Linked DNA regions of Homo sapiens: regions 2 and 3 are each linked to region 1. The links are contacts of gene promoters, found by promoter capture Hi-C in blood cells and fetal thymus (Javierre and others, 2016). All regions are on one chromosome and are shown on one strand. The core of a region is centred on a gene start or on the middle of the fragment in contact, and the rest is flanking DNA. Distances in the headings are between cores, read along the strand shown. Region 1 holds the start of IFNAR1 (interferon alpha and beta receptor subunit 1). Region 2 has its middle 23 kb from the start of LINC01690. Region 3 has its middle 19 kb from the start of EPCIP.

Region 1 (3,655 bases), core at 354-2,853:
GGGGATGCCAACTGTAACTTCAGGTCTACAACCTAAGTCTAGTTCCTAAAACTAAAGTCTAAAACATAAATAGATCGGGCGTGGTGGCTCACACCTGTAATCCCAGCACTTTGGGAGGCTGAAGTGGATTGTTTGAGGTCAGGAGTTCGAGACCAGCCTGGCCAACATGGCAAAACCCCATCTCTACTAGAAATACAAAAAATAGCCGGATGTGGTGGCGTGCACCTGTAATTCCAGCTACTCAAGAGGCTGAGGCAGGAGAATCGCCTGAACCTGGGAGGCAGAGGTTGCAGTGAGCTGAGATCACGCCTCTGCACACCAGCCTGGGCAACAGGCTGTCTCAAAAAAAAAAAAAAAAAAGTATAAATAAAAATGTCTTCCCATATTTTGGACAGTTTTCTTAGTCTTGGGTCCTAGAATTGCATTTACTAGTTTAAAAAGTATGACTATTTTTATGACTTCTGAAAGACTGAGCAACATTACAATCTCATTGAGATAACATTTCATTGAGTTTTGAACATGATTATTTCTTTGGGAAAAAAGTAGGTAGTTAAGTAAACCAAAAATAAAATTCTAAGCCCCCCAACAATGTGAATGGACCTCTCCTCTCAACAAATGGCATTCCAAAGTTAATCTGAAAAACTAGTTCAGGCCTTCCACACTGACCATGTCAATTACAAGCTTATCTTCTCAGGTGCAAAACAAAGTCAAGACTCCATCTACCCAGAGGCATCTGCATAACTGACTCCCTTTACTCTCTTTTTCTCTTCAAGACACTCATGGTATCTTAAAATACAGATTTCTTGGGCACTAACTAAATTCTCACAGAACTATTTGCCTTACTGCCTTCCTGCCCCACCTCCTGAAAACCTCTGGAAAACCAGTCACAGACGTGTTTGTGGCTCACGTTTTTCCCGGATGCGCCCTGAAGCAGGCTTAGTAAACCTCGAGAACTGACAATTATGCTTCAGTCACTCCGACTGTCATTTTTTATTGGCCTGTATGAATCCTGAGGGCAGAGAAATCCTGGCCACACTTAGCTCACTCCCCCGTGGGACTGGGCGCCTATTCACCAGATTGAGGAAATGCATTTCGGGAAATGTTTTGTTTATTATCAAACAGACCAGCGGAGCCGCGGTACTTTCCCGGAAAGAATCAAACTCGACACAAAGCTCTGGCACCGCCATTTCACGGGGGTGGGACCCGGGCGCTCCCGAGGACCCGTACACGGCCACAGGCAAGCGGCAAGAGAGGACCCAGAACACCACTTTCTCCTGGTTGATTTGCGAGCCCAGGTCGGGTTTAATCTTTGGCGCGGCAAAGTGGACCGAAGGTTTCCCAGACTGGGCGTCTGTCGCCCCCAACAGCATCGCCGCCCCCGTAGCCCAGCTGCGTGCCCTACCTCCCGCCCTGCGCCAAGACTCTCCTCCCCGCCTCTCACCTGCGGCTGCGGACAACACCCATGGCGCCACGGCGACGAGCACTAGGGTCGTCGCGCCCAGGAGGACGACCATCATCTGGGAGCCGCCGCAGATCCCACCAGTTACATGTTCGCGCACGCGCAGCTCCTCTCAGCCGCCATCGCCCCGTCCTAAGTCACACCGCCCCTCTGCACACGCGCTGCCCCTCTTAGCTCTCACCGCCCCTCTACGCACGCGCCGCCTCTTCTGACACACACACCGCCCCTCCGCGCACGCGCCGTTCCTCCACGCACGCGCCTTTCCTCCTAGCTAGCACCCCTTCTCCAAGCTCCCATTGCCCCATCCTAATTGCAGCACCCCTGTGCGCGCGCGCCTTAGAAATCGCAGGCCTCCTGCATTCTCTTCTTCCTCACTCTTTCCGGCCTATGGCCGGTCTGGAGCACTTCACCATCGCATTCCAGGACGACTCCCCCTCACAGGAGGCCTTGACCTTCACAGGATCGCGGCACACACCTGCGCAGACCCAGCGACTTTGGAGTTCCCGCGTCTCTTCCCCATGTCTGCAGTCGGAGGGCGCGGGTGGGCTCCTGGTCGCGGCCCGGCGCTCTTCGTCCTCGCCCTTCTCCGCCCGGGGCGCTTGCTGACCCTAGAGTCTTGGACAGTGGCGTTGGGAGTCCCCAGCGGCCTGGGAACCAGATGAGGCTGGAAGGAGGAAGTGGCTGAGCGACCAGACCGTTGCTGTGTGCAGAGCGAGAGCGGGGCAGAGGCGGTCGAGCGCTCGTTTTCCGGGCGACTTGGCTGAGGGGCGAGATGGTCCCTTGGAGAGAACAGCCACGGGCCCTGGGCCGAGGGGCTCCAAACAGCAGTCGCTAGGCTGTTTTGGTCGTCGGGCTTTATCAGTAAACAATTCGAGCCCATGGTTCGAATGATTATTTAATTAAATTCCTCAGTAATAGATCCAGTGCATTGTGAAAATATGCGAAATAAAATTTAAATGATGAGATAAAATAAGGAATCAAATACTTCGTTGTTATAACAACCAAGCAATTAATTAGCAATTACATAATTAAATGAATGTTTGTAAAGAACAATGCAATGGAATATATATGTATTCCATCTATATATTCCATCTCTATATTCCATCTATATATTCCATCTCTATATCCCATCACTATATTCCATCTCTATATCCCATCTCTATATTCCATCTCTATATCCCATCTCTATATTCCATCTCTATATCCCATCTCTATATCCCATCTCTATATTCCATCTCTATATTCCATATCTATTCCATCTCTATATTCCATATCTATTCCATCTCTATATTCCATATCTATTCCATCTCTATATCCCATCTCTATATTCCATCACTATATCCCATCTCTATATCCCATCTCTATATCCCATCTCTATATCCCATCTCTATATCCCATCTCTATATCCCATCTCTATATTCCATCTCTATATTCCATCTCTATTCCATCTCTATATTCCATATCTATTCCATCTCTATATTCCATATCTATTCCATCTCTATATTCCATCTCTATATTCCATCTCTATATGCCATCTCTATATGCCATATATATTCCATCTCTATATGCCATATATATTCCATCTCTATATGCCATATATATTCCATCTCTATATTCCATCTCTATATGCCATCTCTATATGCCATCTCTATATGCCATCTCTATATGCCATCTCTATATGCCATCTCTATATGCCATCTCTATATGCCATCTCTATATGCCATATATATATGCCATCTCTATAGCCATATATATATGCCATATATATATGCCATATATATATGCCATATATATATGCCATATATATATGCCATATATATATATGCCATATATATATGCCATATATATATATGCCATATATATATGCCATATATATATATGCCATATATATATGCCATATATATATATGCCATATATATATGCCATATATATATATGCCATATATATATGCCATATATATATATGCCATATATATATATGCCATGTATATATGCCATATATATATATTCCATGTATATATGCCATATATATATATTCCATGTATATATTCCATATATATATATTCCATGTATATATTCCATATATATATATTCCATGTATATATTCCATATATATATATTCCATGTATATATTCCATATATATATATTCCATGTATATATTCCATATATATATATTCCATGTATATATGCCATATA
Region 2 (3,775 bases), core at 1,127-3,626, 390 kb after region 1:
GTATGGTACGTTGTTATGGCAGCCCCAGACAATGAATACACTATTGTTATGGTGAAATTAACTTCTCTCCATTGTAAGCATTTTTAATGAATGAAGTAGACTTTCCTATGATTTTTTTTCGCTTTTGCTGCTGATGCTCCTGATTCCTACAAATCACTACCATTATTACTTAATACTACAACATAGCATTTATCAAGCAGAGAAATAAAATTATTTTGACCCCCAAACTGGGTTTTCACCCAATCACCTGATAACGCAATATAACTGCTTAGGAGAAACATTGCAAAGTCGACACAGATAAAAACAATTACGTGATGTTTTGAGGAACTGCAGCAAGTGTGGAAAGCAAAGTCTATTAGTCCGTTCTCATGCTGCTATGAAGAAATACCTGAGACTGGGTAATTTATAAAGGAAAGATGTTTAATTGACTCACAGTTCCACGGGGCTGAGGCCTCAGGAAATTTACAATCATGGCGGAAGGGGAAGCAAACACATCCTTCTTCACACGGCAGCAGCAAGGAGAAGTGCCGAGCAAGGGGGGAAACGCCCCTTATAAAACCATCAGATCTCGGGAGAACTCACTACCGCGAGAACAGCATGAGGGTTACAGCCCCCATGATTCAATTACCTCCCACCTGGTCCATCCCATGACAGATGGGGATTATGAGAACTACAATTTAAGATGAGATTTGGGTGGGGACACAGCCAAACCATATCAGGAGGCTTTTCAAAGGAAACCTGGCTATCAATCATTTAGGGAGGGTCTCCACCTGCCAACTGAGAGTTACAGAAGCAGAGCCCTGGGGAGAGGAGCTGGCAGGTAAATGCATGGATGTGAGTCACACAGGAGGCCTCATTTCCAGCCCCAACAATTGTTTGTGACCTGGGCAAATGGCTTAGCCTTTTGCACCTACGTCTGTTAATCTGTGAAATGATGATAATTCCTGCCACGTGGACAACACAAGCAGGGGTTTAGCACCATGCCTGGCACACAGTAAGCTCCCAGTAACTCCCAGTAAGTGGCCGCCACCGCACTTTCCTGATGCCACCATTATTCACAACCATCATCTTCAGTGATCACAGAAGATAGTCCCAGTGACGCAGAGAAGACAGCGAGGCCATGTGTTCACCAAGCTCAAGGAAGCAGCTGGTGAAGGGTCACAAATGCGGCTTCAAATGGTGGAAATGGACTCTGTCACTAACTGGTTCTTCCCCTTATGTGACTTTGATTGAGTCCTCTAGCCTCTCTAGAGGTGAATATGGAGGGAAATGAATCAAACATTGAAATACTCAGCCTATAGGGTGATTTTGAAAATTTAATAGGAAAATATACGAAAGAGCATTCTGGAACATAGTAAAGGCTCTGCAAATAACATTTGAATATAAATAGTGATTTTGTTCACAACCATAAAGGTAGCATTAAACATATATATATATATACGTTTGACACATATCTTGGAGGTTTCACCACAGATTGGAATAATGTGTTCTGTTAATTGGGCCAGTGGTATCATAATAAATTAGCATTAGATTAACTGAAAATATAAAAACAGATTAGCAGAGGTTGCAGTGAGCCAAGATTGCGGCACTGCATTCCAGCCTGGGCGACACAGCGAGACTCCATCTCAAAAAAAAAAAAAAAAGAAAGAAAGTACTTCTGACTTCTGCCTTGCTCCCTCTTGGATCACCATCTAAGAGGGAAGCCAGCTGCCATGTTGTGAGGCCATTCAAGCAGGCTGTGAACAGCCCATGAGGGAGGAATTGAGGTTTCCCACCAACAATTAGCACCAACTTGCCAGGTGTGTGAGTGTGCCTCCTTGGAAGCAGACCCTGCAGCCCCAATCTAGCTTTCAGAAGACTACATCCCCAGGTGACACACGACATGAACCTCAAGAGGGACCCTGAGTCAGAACCACCCAGCTAAGCTTCTCCTGAATCCGTGACCCATGGAACTGGGAGATAAAATAAGGTTTGTTGTTGTTGTTGTTTTGAGACAGAGTCTCACTCTGTCACCAGGCTGGAGTGCAGTGGCCAATCTCTGCTCACTGCAACCTCCGCTTTCTGGGTTTAAACGACTCTCCTGCCTCAGCCTCCTGAGTAGCTGGGATTACAAGGATGTGCCATCACGTTTGACTAATTTTTGTATTTTTAGTAGAAACGGGGTTTCACCATGTTGGCCAGGATAGTCTCGATCTCCCGACCTTGTGATCCACCCGCCTCGGCCTCCCAAAGTGCTGGGATTACAGGTGTGAGCCACTGCACCCAGCCGGTTTGTTGTTGTTTTAAGCCCATAAGTTTTAGGGTGTTTAATTACACAGCAATGGATAACTAATATGGGGAGGTCTAAACCTATAAGGCAGATAGGACAGAGTTCCCAATGAGGAAATATCCCTTGTAGCTATAATCGGAACCTGATGTTGCCCTTTCTAATCTAAAAGACTTCAGCAGAACAGAATTCCTTCACCCTGACACTGTGGGGTTTATTTTGTCAGTGCCCTAAGAAACAAGCCAGTTTTCTGAATTCTAAGCATGTAATCAGCCAACTGGGCTGAAGAAGCTGGGCCCCAAGCCGCTCTCACCTGGAGGGCTGGGGCCTATGACCTAATAATTATGCTAATGCACCTGAAAACATACCGTGAGGGTTGTAGCAAACATGTCCTACATCCCCACTGAAGTTCTTCAACTGAGGACAGCATTAAACTGCAGCATGAGACCCTTTAAGGAAGACCTGTCTGCTGCCTGGCTGGTTGGAGACATGGATCAGTTACTGGGGCTGTGGTGGATCCATCTATGGAATGGGGGGCACCCGAAGCTGCAGGAAGCTTCTGTTAAAGATCAGCAGAGGTTGCCTTGGGTTCTTGATGTCCCCCTGCATACTATAGGTCATGCCAGTTACCTGGGGGACAGAAATACTGAGGAGCTGCCTGTGAATTTCTTTTAAATAAATGGTCCTTCCCATATGAAAATTATCCTCACTGGGAAACTATATCCTTTGAATGCTTTCTCTCCTAAATTGGTTCTCAAACTTGACTATGCATTAGACTCACCCAGAGAATCTACCAAAAATGCAGATTTCAGGAGTCCATTCCCAGCAGCTGTTAGCTAGGCCCAAAAAGATGGCTCTTGTTTTCTAGCTGCTCCCAAGATTTTAATTTGCAAACAGGTTTGAGAACCACTTGTCAGTCAATTTATGTGACAAATCCATTTCAAGTCCCCAGTCAAACATCGTGCTGTGGAAGCCCCCAGACAGGCCTGCCCACGTTACAACAGTACGGTGGGAGACATTGGTCTAACAGCCCCCTTACTAAAAGCATCATAAAGCCTAGGTGTTCACTCTTGCCCAGGGAGTGTTAGAATTCTGTCCCCCGGCTCCCTTCTTCAGGCAGTTAATGAGGGGGTTAAACATAAGAGTTTTGGAATCAGACAAATCAGACCTGGGCCCGTGATACTCAAGAGCTACATACCGGCCGGGCGCGGTGGCTCATTCCTATAATCCCAGCTCTTTGGGAGGCCGAGGCGGGCGGATCACCTGAGGTTGGGAGTTCTAGACCAGCCTGAGCAACATGGAGAAACCCTGTCTCTAGTAAAAATAAAAAATAAAAAATTAGCCAGGCAAGGTGGCGCATGCCTGTTATCCCAGCTACTCGGGAGGCTGAGGCAGGGGAATCGCTTGAACCCGGGAGGCAGAGGTTGCGGTGAGCTGAGATTGCACAATTACACTCCAGCCTGGGCAACAAGAGCAAAACTCCATCTCAAAAAAAAAAAAAAAAAAAAA
Region 3 (3,541 bases), core at 383-2,882, 490 kb after region 1:
AGATGCTTTGTCTAGGATAGATTCCAGAACCTAGGACTATTTGATCAAAAATAAAGAAATAAACATTTTTATGGTTCTTAGATCAGAATTGCTACCTGCTTTTCAAAGGGTTGAACCAACTTACATTGTAACTGGCTACATATGGATGTAGCACTTTGCCAAGACCTCACCAGCATAGCAAAATTTCGTTTTAAAACAGGTTGGCTAATTATATAAGTTGCCACCATTTGCGTTGTTTAACCACTGGTGAAGTCTGAACATTTTTCATATTTCCTTATGAAAAACAAGTGGGCATCAATATGTTTTAAGACCATTTTTAAAATAACACTAATTTCCCAAGGTAGGGAGAAAAAGACCATATCATGTAGAGAAACCAACTTGAGCTTTAAAATGACACTTAAGTACAAAAATGTTTGCAGTACTCTATAGCCAATGAGCTCTCCAAAACCAAGAAACCAAGTTCCCACTTTTGTCCTGAGATATATCTGGCCACAATGATTTATCCATATCTGGGGCCCAATCCTGCCTCTTTGGTCCTTTTCTGTAGTGTGGATATTAGCTTGTGAAGGCAAGCAACAGAGTTGGGGACTGACAGTTTCCTGGGGAAAAACGGAGGCTTAGGGGGCTAGACTTCAACTAATGGACTAGTCGACAAATATTTATTGGGTGTTATTAAGCACTTACTAAAGCATGGCTTCTACTCTCAAAGAAATAGTAAGATGAAAGGGTTAACAACAGGAAACCATCGTAGAACACAGAACATACTTGAAAACCTGGTGATGATGCCCCCTAGCACCCTGGCAGTCAGGAAATGGAGAAAACATGTCGCCTGGAGTGAGCTGGAAAATCTTCAGAGAACAGGTAAAAATTGCTCTGCCGGCCGGGCGCAGTGGCTCACGCCTGTAATCCCAGCACTTTGGGAGGCCGAGGCGGGCGGATCACGAAGTCAGGAGATCGAGACCATCCTGCCTAACACAGTGAAACCCCGTCTCTACTAAAAATACAAAAAAATTAGCCGGGCGTGCTGGCGGGCGCCTGTAGTCCCAGCTACTGGGAAAGCTGAGGCAGGAGAATGGTGTGAACCCGGGAGGCGGAGCTTGCAGTGAGCCGAGATCGCGCCACTGCACTCCAGCCTCGGCGACAGAGAAAGACTCTGTCTCAAAAAAAAAAGACAAGAAAAGAAAAAGGAAAAAAAAGAAATAAGAATTGGGCACTTCATTCCCAGGGGAATTACCAGAACCCACCTAAGCTAGACAGGAAAAGAAATGAAAGTAGAGGTTATCTGTAGTTCATGATGAACTTGCTGTTTCCCTCATTATCACTTGTACTTTCCTCTTGTTTATGTACCTAGGATGACTCCTTTGTCCAACGCTTCACCAAATCCAGCACCATGGACTCAGTCAGATTCCATAGGCGAAGAACAGAAGCTCATGTTAGCAAAGCTTCCTTGTGTGGTATTCTGATTTGATGATCTTTTTTTTTTTTGGAAACATACTATCAAGAGATCCTGTTGGCCATGCAAGGTGGCTCACGCCTGTAATCCCACCACTTTGGGAGGCCGAGGTGGGAGAATCCCTTGACACCAGGAGTTTGAGACCAGCCTGATGAACGTAGCAAGACCCTCATCAGTACAAAATATTTAAAAATTAACTGAGTGTGGTGGCATGCAACTTGTAGTCCCAGCTAGTCAGGAGGCCGAGGTGGGAGGATCACCTGAGCCGAGGAGTTAGAGGCCGCAGCTGAGCTATGATTGCACCACTGCATTCCAGTCTGAGTGACACAGCAAGACCCCATCTCCACAAAACAAACCTCAGAAAGCTTAGAATTAAAATGAAGAAGGTGATTGGGATAAAAAAAATTCATGATGGAGTAAGATAATAAATACAAACCTAAATATACCATAATAATATTAATGGCTCAAATTCCCACAGTAAAAACAGATTAGATTTAAAAATCAGTTATATTTGGCTGGGCGCAGTGGCTCATGCCTGTAATCCCAGCACTTTGGGAGGCCAAGGCAGGTAGATCACCTGAAGTCAGGAGTTCGAGACCATCCTGACCAACATGGAGAAACCCTGTCTCTACTAAAAATACAAAATTAGCCAGGCGTGGTGCCACATGCCTGTAATCCCAGCTACTTGGGAGCCTGAGGCAGGAGAAGAGCTTGAACCTGGGAGGCAGAGGTTGCGAAACTCCATCAAAAAAAAAAAAAAGGCCGGGCGCGGTGGCTCACGCCTGTGGTCCCAGCACTTTGGGAGGCTGAGGCAGGCAGATCATGCGGTCAGGAGATCGAAACCAGCCTGGCCAACATGGTGAAACCCAGTCTCTACTAAAAATACTAAAAAAAATGCTGGGGGTGGTGGTGGGCTCCTGTAATCCCGGCTACTCAGGAGGCTGAGGCAGGAGAATCGCTTGAACCCAGGAGGCGGAGGTTGCAGTGAGCCAAGATCGTCCCACTGCACTCCAGCCTGGGGGAAAGTGCGAGACTCTGTCTCAAAAAGAAAAAAAATCAGTTACATTCTATTTATAAAAGATAATCCAAAACATATGGAGGACAAGGGAATAAAGTGATGAATAAAGATATACCAGACAAATAGGAACCAAAAAAAAAATCTAGGATCGCCACATCAATTTTAGACAAAATAACAATAAAGAGGGTAACTAACATTCTGATTATCTAGAAAAGAGAGTAACTAACATTCTGTTGTTTAGAACAACAATTCTAGAGTAGAGGGCATCATATAAAATAGCGTCAAGGAGGAATAAGTTCCAGTGTTCTATACCATTGTAGGATGACTGTAGTCAAAAATAATATGTGGTTTCAAACAGCTAGAAGGAGGATATCAAATGTCCCCCATACAAACGAATGATAAATGTTTGAAATGATGGATATGCTAATTCTTGTTATTCTGATCACTATACTTTATATGTACCAAAACATCACTATGTGCCCCATAAATGTGTACAATTATTACATGTCAACTTAAATATATATAAAGCAATAATTCTAAAACAAGAGATTCTAAAATTAAATGGAAACATAGTGGGCTAAGAGTAGCTAAGGCAATCTTGAAGAACACTTCGGAGCTATTAAAATTTATAAAAGACCTATCATAAAACTCTAGTGGCCAAGACAGTAAGGTATCGGTACAAGAATGAAAAAAAACAATAGAACAGAATGGTGAGTTGAGAAACAGACCCACATATATACAGTCATCCAATTCATAAGAAATTGACAATCAGACAATTAAATTTGTTTAAAATCTTGACCCCTGACTCACACCAAAGATGAAAATCAATTCCAGACAGATCATAGATTAAATGTATTGGGTTAAACCATATGAAACTCCTATTTTTTATGTTGACTATTAGTAATTTCATATGGTTTAACTTAATAAAACAGTAAAACTTTTGTGATAGAGCATGGGAAAATATTTTCATGAAACTGAAGTAGCCAAAGGTCTATTTAACCAACACAAAAAATGTGATAATCATAGAGAAAAAATAAGTAAATTAAAACACATTAATATTAAAAACTTTC

The links. The method cuts DNA at HindIII sites, captures the fragments that hold promoters and counts their contacts. A CHiCAGO score of 5 or more calls a contact.
Region 2: a fragment that was not itself captured here is called in contact with the fragment with the promoter of IFNAR1 in region 1 in 1 of 17 cell types (non-activated CD4 T cells); the score reaches 5.2 in non-activated CD4 T cells.
Region 3: a fragment that was not itself captured here is called in contact with the fragment with the promoter of IFNAR1 in region 1 in 1 of 17 cell types (total CD4 T cells); the score reaches 6.0 in total CD4 T cells.

The regions. Positions count from the first base shown.
Region 1 is chr21:33,322,918-33,326,572 of GRCh38, reverse strand. It overlaps IFNAR1 (interferon alpha and beta receptor subunit 1), which reads right to left and starts at 1,603. Exons shown (of 11, transcript NM_000629.3): 1 at 1,442-1,603. The coding sequence starts at 1,517. RefSeq lists cis regulatory regions at 1,614, 1,671-1,680, 2,171, enhancers at 775-1,676, 1,910-1,959, 2,180-2,389, 1,677-2,579 and promoters at 1,592-2,262, 1,616-2,899. The HindIII fragment of the contact is 6,325 bases long and covers 684-3,655 here.
Region 2 is chr21:32,933,993-32,937,767 of GRCh38, reverse strand. No RefSeq gene overlaps it. Among named protein-coding and RNA genes, the nearest start is that of LINC01690, 23 kb to the left of the region's middle. The HindIII fragment of the contact is 897 bases long and covers 1,928-2,824 here.
Region 3 is chr21:32,830,630-32,834,170 of GRCh38, reverse strand. No RefSeq gene overlaps it. Among named protein-coding and RNA genes, the nearest start is that of EPCIP, 19 kb to the right of the region's middle. The HindIII fragment of the contact is 376 bases long and covers 1,445-1,820 here.